Regions from separate parts of the Homo sapiens genome. Here region 1 is linked to region 2. The links are contacts of gene promoters, found by promoter capture Hi-C in blood cells and fetal thymus (Javierre and others, 2016). All regions are on one chromosome and are shown on one strand. The core of a region is centred on a gene start or on the middle of the fragment in contact, and the rest is flanking DNA. Distances in the headings are between cores, read along the strand shown. Region 1 has its middle 6.6 kb from the start of URGCP-MRPS24. Region 2 holds the start of C7orf25 (chromosome 7 open reading frame 25).

What was found. The method cuts DNA at HindIII sites, captures the fragments that hold promoters and counts their contacts. A CHiCAGO score of 5 or more calls a contact.
Region 1: a fragment that was not itself captured here is called in contact with the fragment with the promoter of C7orf25 in region 2 in 2 of 17 cell types (naive CD8 T cells and non-activated CD4 T cells); the score reaches 8.2 in naive CD8 T cells.

Annotation. Positions count from the first base shown.
Region 1 is chr7:43,911,299-43,915,128 of GRCh38, reverse strand. It overlaps a transcript of URGCP not described here. Among named protein-coding and RNA genes, the nearest start is that of URGCP-MRPS24, 6.6 kb to the right of the region's middle. The HindIII fragment of the contact is 7,696 bases long and covers 1-3,830 here.
Region 2 is chr7:42,910,323-42,914,001 of GRCh38, reverse strand. C7orf25 (chromosome 7 open reading frame 25) reads left to right here and starts at 1,932. Exons shown (of 2, transcript NM_001099858.2): 1 at 1,932-2,087; 2 at 3,081-3,679. The coding sequence starts at 3,102. RefSeq lists enhancers at 130-189, 1,709-2,405, 2,406-3,103 and a silencer at 2,101-2,360. The HindIII fragment of the contact is 2,903 bases long and covers 1,653-3,679 here.

The DNA of each region.
Region 1 (3,830 bases), core at 1,265-3,764, 1.0 Mb before region 2:
CAGCAAAAAAGAGAGGGTCCTGCCAACAGGCTCCCACCTCACAGATTGAATACCAGGCCAACACACATGAGCTGAAGAGGCCAGGCTCCTCTCCCAGCATAAGGGGTGAATTCCTGGTGGCTCCACCCCCATTCTTCAGTGCGCATGCGGGCCGTTAGTCTGAGCCACTCCACATTGATTTCCCTTACTGCATTTGTGTTAAGGGACAGAATTTTTCACCATGGGCATGTTTAGGGAAGTACCCTGTGCACCATGACCTGTGCGGCATATGGCTGTCTCCTATCTCTATCAGTAGTATCAGTAAAGAGATAGAAAACCTACAAAGAAACCGAAAAATAATTCTGGAGCTGAAAAGTATAATAACAAATAAAAAATGCACTGGAGGGATTCAAAGCAAATTTGAACAGAGAAAAGAATCTGTGAACTTGGAGATAGAACAATGGAAATTACCAAATCTGAGGAACAAAACCATCTGGGGATGCAGTCCAGTAGGTCTCAGCCTTATTTTACTCAGCCTCTATTCAAGATGGAGTTGCTGTGATTCAAATGCCTCTAACACAAGTGAGATGAACTCAGAGAGGAGATCCACACTGACACATAATTAAACTCTTATTTTTTATTTTTTTGAGACACTCTCATCCTGCCACCCAGGCTGGAGTACAGTGGTATGATCTTGGCTCACTGCAACCTCCATCTCCCAGGCTCAAGAGATGCTCTCACCTCAGGCACCCAAGTAGTTAGGACTACAGACATGCATTAGCATACCCGGCTAAATTTTTTTTGAGGGTGGTTAGAGATGCGGTTTTACCATGTTTCCCAGGCTGATCTCAAGCTCCTGGGCTCAAGCAATCCACCCCACCTCAGCCTCCCAAAGTGCTGGGATTACAGGTGTGAGCCACCACACCCAGCCATAATTAAACTTTCAAAAGCCACCCTGGCAAAACCCGTCTCTACAAAACATACAAAAATTAGCCAGGTGTGGTGGCAAGCACCTGTAGTACCAGCTACTTAGGGAGCTGAGGCCAAAGGATTGCTTGAGCCCAAGAAATCAGCTTGAGCTAATATCACGCCACTGCACTCCAGCCTGAGTGACAGAGCAAGATAGTCTCTATAAAAAAACAAATAAAATAGGCCAGGTGCAGTGGCTCACACCTATAATACCAGGACTTTGGTAGGCCAAGGCAGGTGGATCACTTGAGGGTAGGAGTTCAAGACCAGCCTGGCCAACATGGTAAAAACCTGTTTCTACTAAAAATACAAAAATTAGCTGGGCGTGGTGATGTGCACCTGTAGTCCCAGCTACTTGGAAGGCTGAGGCAGGAGAATCACTTGAACTAGGGAGGCGGAGGTTGCAGTGAGCCAAGATCATGCCACTGCACTCCAGCCTGGGCAACAGAGCGAGATTCCATCTCAAAAATAAATAAATAAATGAAATAAAATAAAACTTTCGAAAGCCAAAAACAGAGAATCTTGAAAGTGTGAAGAGAGAAGTGATTCATCATATTTAAGGGCTCTTTAATAAGATTATCAGCAGATTTCTCATGAGAAACTTTTAAGGCTAGCAGGCAGTGGGGTGATATATTTAAAGTGCTTAAAGAAAATAACTGTCAGGGCCAGGTGCGGTGGTTCACGCCTATAATCCCAGCACTTTGGGAGGCCGAGGCAGGCAGATCACAAGGTCAGGAGATGAAGACCATCCTGGCTAACACGGTGAAACCCCGTCTCTACTAAAAATAAAAAATAAAAAAAAAAAATAGCCGGGAGTGGTGGCAGGCGCCTGTAGTCCCAGCTACTCAGGAGGCTGAGGCAGGAGAATGGTGTGAACCCAGGAGGCGGAGCTTGCAGTGAGCCGAGTTCGCGCCACTGCACTCCAGCCTGGACCACAGAGCGAGACTCCGTCTCAAAAAACAAACAAACAAAAAAAACTGTCAACCAAGAATCTTATATCTGGCAAATTGTCCTTCAAAAGTATGGGAGAGGCTGGGCGGGATGGCTCATACCTGTAATCCCAGCACTTAGGGAGGCCAAGGTGGGTGGATCACTTGAGGTCAGGAGTTGGAGACCAGTCTGGCCAACATGGTGAAACCCTGTCTCTACTAAAAATATAAAAATTAGCTGGGCATGGTGGCGCATGGCTGTAATCCCAGCTACATGGGAGGCTGAGGCAGGAGAATCTCTTGAACCCGGGAGGTGGAGGTTGCAGTGAGCTGAGATCATGCCACTACATTCCAGCCTGGGCAACAGAGTGAGACTCTGTCTCAAAAAGAAAAAAAAAAATTGAAGGAGAAATTAAGACATTCACAGAAAAACAAAAGCTGAGGGAATTCATTACCAATAGACTGGTCCTGCAAGAAATGCTGAAGGGAGTCATACAAATTGCTACAAAATATTAAAGAATAAATACATAAAAGGAAAGACATCCTATGTTGATGGGTTGAATTGGAAGACAATATTGTTAAGATGTCACTATTACCCCAAGTGATCTGCAGATACAATGTAATCCCTATCAAAATCTCGATGGTTTTGCAGAAATAGAAAAACCCATCCTAAAGTTCATATGGAATCTGAAGGGATCCTGAACAGCCAAAACAGTTTTAAAAAGAACAAAGCTGGAGGACTTACACTTCCTGATTTTGGAGTCTTGCTCTGTTGCCTAGGCTGGAATGCAGTGGTGCAATCTCAGCTCACTGCAACCTCCATCTCCTGGGTTCAAGCGATTCTCCTGCCTTAGCCTCCCGAGTAGCTGGGACTACAGGCGTGCGCCACCACGCCTGGCTAATTTTTTGTATTTTTAGTAGAGACAGGGTTTCACCATGTTGGCCAGGCTGGTCTGGAACTCTTGACCTCAGGTAATCCAACAGCCTCAGCCTCCCAAAGTGCTGGGATTACAGGCATGAGCAACCACGCCCGGCCCATATTACTTTAATTTTTATTATTTCCCTCCTTTTGCTAGCTTTGGATATAGTTTGCTCTTCATTTTCTTTTTCTTTAAGGTATAGAGCTAAGTTATTGAGTTGAGATCTTTCTTTGTTTTAAATATAGGCATTAAAGTATAAATTGCCCTCTTAGAACTGACTGCACTGCATCCCATAAGTTTTGGTATATTTTATTTTTTTTCAAGGTATTTTCTAATTTCCTGTGTTTTTTTTCTTTTGGTCCATTGGTTGCTTAAGGGTGTTCTTTAATTTCCACACATTTGTCAATTTTCTAGTTTTCTTCCTGTTGTGAGGTCTAGTTTCTAGTTTCATTCCATTATGATCAAAAAAGATACTTTATATGATTTTATTATTTTATGATGTATTAAGGCTTGTTTTGTGACCTAACATATGGTCTATCTTGGAGAGTGTTCCATGTGCATTTGAGAAGAACATGTATTTTGCTGTTGTTCAGTAGTGCTGTGCATATGTCTGTTAGGTCCTATTTATTTATTTGAGACAGAGTTTCACTCTTGTTGCCCAGGATGGAGTGCAATGATGAGATCTTGGCTAACTACAACCTCCACCTCCCAGGTTCAAGCAATTTTCCTGCCTCAGCCTCCTAAGTAGCTGGGATTACAGACATCCACCGCCACGCCTGGCTAATTTTTTGTATTTTTAGTAGAGACGGGGTTTCACCATGTTGGCCAGGCTGGTCTTGAACTCCTGACCTCAGGTGATCCACCCTCCTCAGCCTCCCAAAGTGCTGGGATTACAGGCGTGAGCCACCGCGCCTGGCCCTATTTATTTATTTGAGATGGAGTCTCGCTCTGTCACCCAGGCTGGAATCGGTGGCATGATCTCAGCTCTCTGCAACCTCCACCTCCTGGGTTCACACAATACTCCTGCCTCAGC
Region 2 (3,679 bases), core at 683-3,182:
CAATCCAGGCTAGGTGCTTGTTTGAAACTATCTTTATTCTCCTTGCTTTCTCTCTGAATTGGCTGGGTTTAAAAACTCTAAGAAATAAATTATCTCCACATTTTGAAAGCATTACTCCCTTCTAAATTCCAGTGTTGCTGATAGGAAGCCTAATACTATTGCGTATGTGATGCCAAGTCCTTTGTAAGTTTTCCCCTCTGCAGCTCTTGGTTTTTCTCTTATCTGCTGTGTTCTGAAACTTCACAACCATGTTCCTTTGTGTGGGTTTCTTAATAGTCATTGTGGTGAGCACTCAGTGGGCCCTTGCACTGTGAAAAACGTTTCTGTTTGCTAAATTTTCTATTAAGTTTTTGAAAAATTTTCTCTTCATTTTGTTTTTGTTTCTAAACTCCTGTTAATTGGATACTGGATCCTTTTGTTTTTGCTCCATTTTTCATCTATTTCTACTTTCTAAATTTTTCCAACTCATTGATGTTTTGAAATTTGGGATATGATTTTTACTACAGAAGAACCATTTCCTGTGCTCTGCTGTCTCCTTAAAAAAAGAAATCCTCTTGTTTCATAGCTGAAATATCTTTTATTTGAAGATGCTAGTTATAGAATACTTTTTGAGACCATTTTGTTCTGTTTTCCATTTCCTTCAAATAACAAAAACGTTGGGAAATGCTGTGTTCGTGAGGCTCACACTAGGGGATGCTGAATGTTGGTATTGCCGAGCCATTTCTCTAGGGTCTTTTGTCTACTCATTTCTTCAGAGAAAAATAGGGTTATGGGGAGATAGTGGTAGGGAGCGGTAGAGGGGTGCCTGCATTATGGGAGGGGCAGAGAAGGGGGCTGCTAGCATTGCACTATTCAGTAGGAAAACATCATGGCACCTCTCATCCTTTGTTAGGCTTTGTGTCTGGAATCCCTCTGATGCCCTGTCTTTAGCATCTTAAACTAGTCTTCTGCCTGAACAATTTACTGCCCTCCCTTCTACCTTCAAGGCACCTGAAGCTTTCTGGGGTTCTGCTTTGTGAATCAGTGGCTAAATATCCCCTTCTACAAGCAGTTTGCTCAGTTCTCCTGACACCATCTGCAAAGAGGGTGCTTGGGTTCAGGTAACCTCCCTATGGCTCACTTATCTGTAAAGCATACTTAATATCTCTACCTTTTAGGTTGTTTAAAGGAGTGAACAATGTGTAAAACACTTAGAACAATGTCTGTCACGCTGTAAGGACTGAATAAGTTATTGCTCTTGTCCTCCAAAAATGTGTTGGTATAACCGGTCTGCAGTCATCTCTTCTCTTGTTCTTTTTGCCTTTGTTTGTTCCCTTTGTCATTGCTTTACTGTTATTTGGAGAAGGAGCATTGCTTTACTGTTAAGTTTGGAGAAGGAGCAGGATACACAGGATTAATTATAACTGGAAGTCCTCTTTAATATTTTAAATTAGCTTTACTTTCTTACAGCCCTAATCTTTCTGGGTGACTCTGGACACTCTACTACAGTAATATGAATATGGCAGCCCCTCGGAAGCCATGCAATCATTTCTTCTCTTCAGAAGGACAGCACACTTTCTTTGGAGGGCCCAGGACAATGCAGTGGAAAGTGCTTTGGCTTGGAGGCAGAAGTCCCAGAGGCAGTACTTCTCAGCTGTCACCTCTGACAAGCTTCTCCAGCGTTTCTTCTGTTAAAATGAGCCCCCAAAATGCCTACGACCCGGTTGCGATCGAGTGGCCGACGCCCCCAGTGGGAGTGAGGCCCAGCACGCGAGCTCGGTCCCTCTTCCTGGAGCCAGGTGGGTGCGCGCCTTCAGGCTCACCCGGCGGCGCAAGCGGGAGAAGCCAGGTGCCCTCAATAAACATGGCCGCCACGCCAGCGTCAACCCGGCTCGGGAGGCCGCGCTGCCGCTTGGGAATCGCAGGTTTGGCGTCACCCGGCCCGGAACCACGTGATGCAGGAGGTGCCCGAGGCGGCGGGGCTCGCGCGGGTGGAGCCGCCTCGGCGTTCGAGCGGGGTGGGGGCTGCCCGGTTGAGATTTCCCGGCGGGTCCCGGCCTCTGCGTGCACGCGCCTGCGTGCTCGCGCTCGCGGTTCTGGCGCTGCCGGTGAGGAGCCGGGGAGCGAGGCGGGGAGGCTGGGAGCGGGGCGCCTCTTCTGAGGCCAGAGGGGGCTGGGCAGGGCCGGCCCGGCGGGAAGGGGGTCGGCCGCGCGCTATCAGCGCCTGGTCCCTGAGCCGCGGCGCTGGCGGTGGGGGCTTTTCGGCCCCGGCCCCTCCTGGCAGGGCCCGGCTGTGCAGGTGGCCGGGCAGGGCCGAGGGCCCCGCAGCCCACCGAGAAGGCCCCGCCGGCCTCTGGCCCGCCCACCCGGCGACCTGCGCTGGGGCCGCTTGCACGGCCGCCGCGGGTTGCAGCCTTGGAGTTTAGTTTCATCTTCGGATTTTCCTTCAGAGTCGGAGTGGGAGTGGGACGCAAGTTGGTGGTCTTCTTCGGTCTTTTAAAATAGTCTGGGTTGACGTCAAATGCAGAAATGAGGCAGTGTTGATTTTTTTTGGCGTAAGTACCCCAAGCCTCGGGGGAAATCATGAGGCAGCCGGTTGAAGGAGACCAACTCGGGAAGGAGGAAAAGGTTAGGGAGGCTGAAGTGCTCAGTTTAGGACAGACACTTGCTTTGGACAGTTTGCTAACTAGCCAGTCTGTGTGTATTTTTGTTTTCGGCATTTTTGTCGCCTTTATTAAAATTTCTCAGCAGTTAAACAGGCCGCTGATAGACATAAGGGAATTATTTATATAGCAGATTGCCCAACTCTTGCATTGTATCCTAACCTAGGACCATGCTGTGTCCCCATGGCTTTCAAGCTGAAGAAATGAAGGTCTAAAGTGTGTCAGACGTACCTAAAGAAGAGTTCAAAAGTGTAGCTGCCATCCTTTCCTTAGCTATCAGAGGAAGCAGTCACTCCAGAATGAGACATACACAAGCCCGGGTTCATAGACTCACCCTCCATAAGCTGTGTTGCTAGATTGAAGTTTTTAATCACCAGTGAAGAATTGATTGTCATAATTTTAGGAGACTACTGAAGTTTGCCTTGTTTCTTTCCCTAGGAAAGGAATAATGCTGACAGCATGTCTGCACATTCCATGCTCTGTGAACGAATCGCCATAGCCAAGGAACTGATCAAGAGAGCAGAATCACTTTCTAGATCAAGAAAAGGTGGCATAGAAGGTGGTGCAAAGCTGTGCAGCAAATTGAAGGCAGAATTAAAATTCTTGCAGAAAGTAGAAGCTGGGAAAGTAGCTATTAAAGAGTCTCATTTACAGAGCACTAACCTAACACACCTGAGAGCCATTGTGGAATCAGCAGAAAACCTGGAAGAAGTTGTTAGTGTTCTTCATGTCTTTGGTTATACAGATACCTTAGGAGAAAAGCAAACCCTTGTGGTAGATGTAGTTGCAAATGGTGGTCATACTTGGGTGAAAGCCATTGGCCGGAAGGCTGAAGCTCTTCATAACATCTGGCTGGGCAGGGGCCAATATGGTGACAAAAGCATCATTGAGCAGGCTGAAGACTTCCTCCAGGCCAGTCACCAGCAGCCAGTGCAGTATAGCAACCCTCACATCATCTTTGCATTTTACAACAGTGTCTCCAGCCCCATGGCAGAGAAGCTGAAAGAAATGGGCATATCTGTGAGAGGAGACATAGT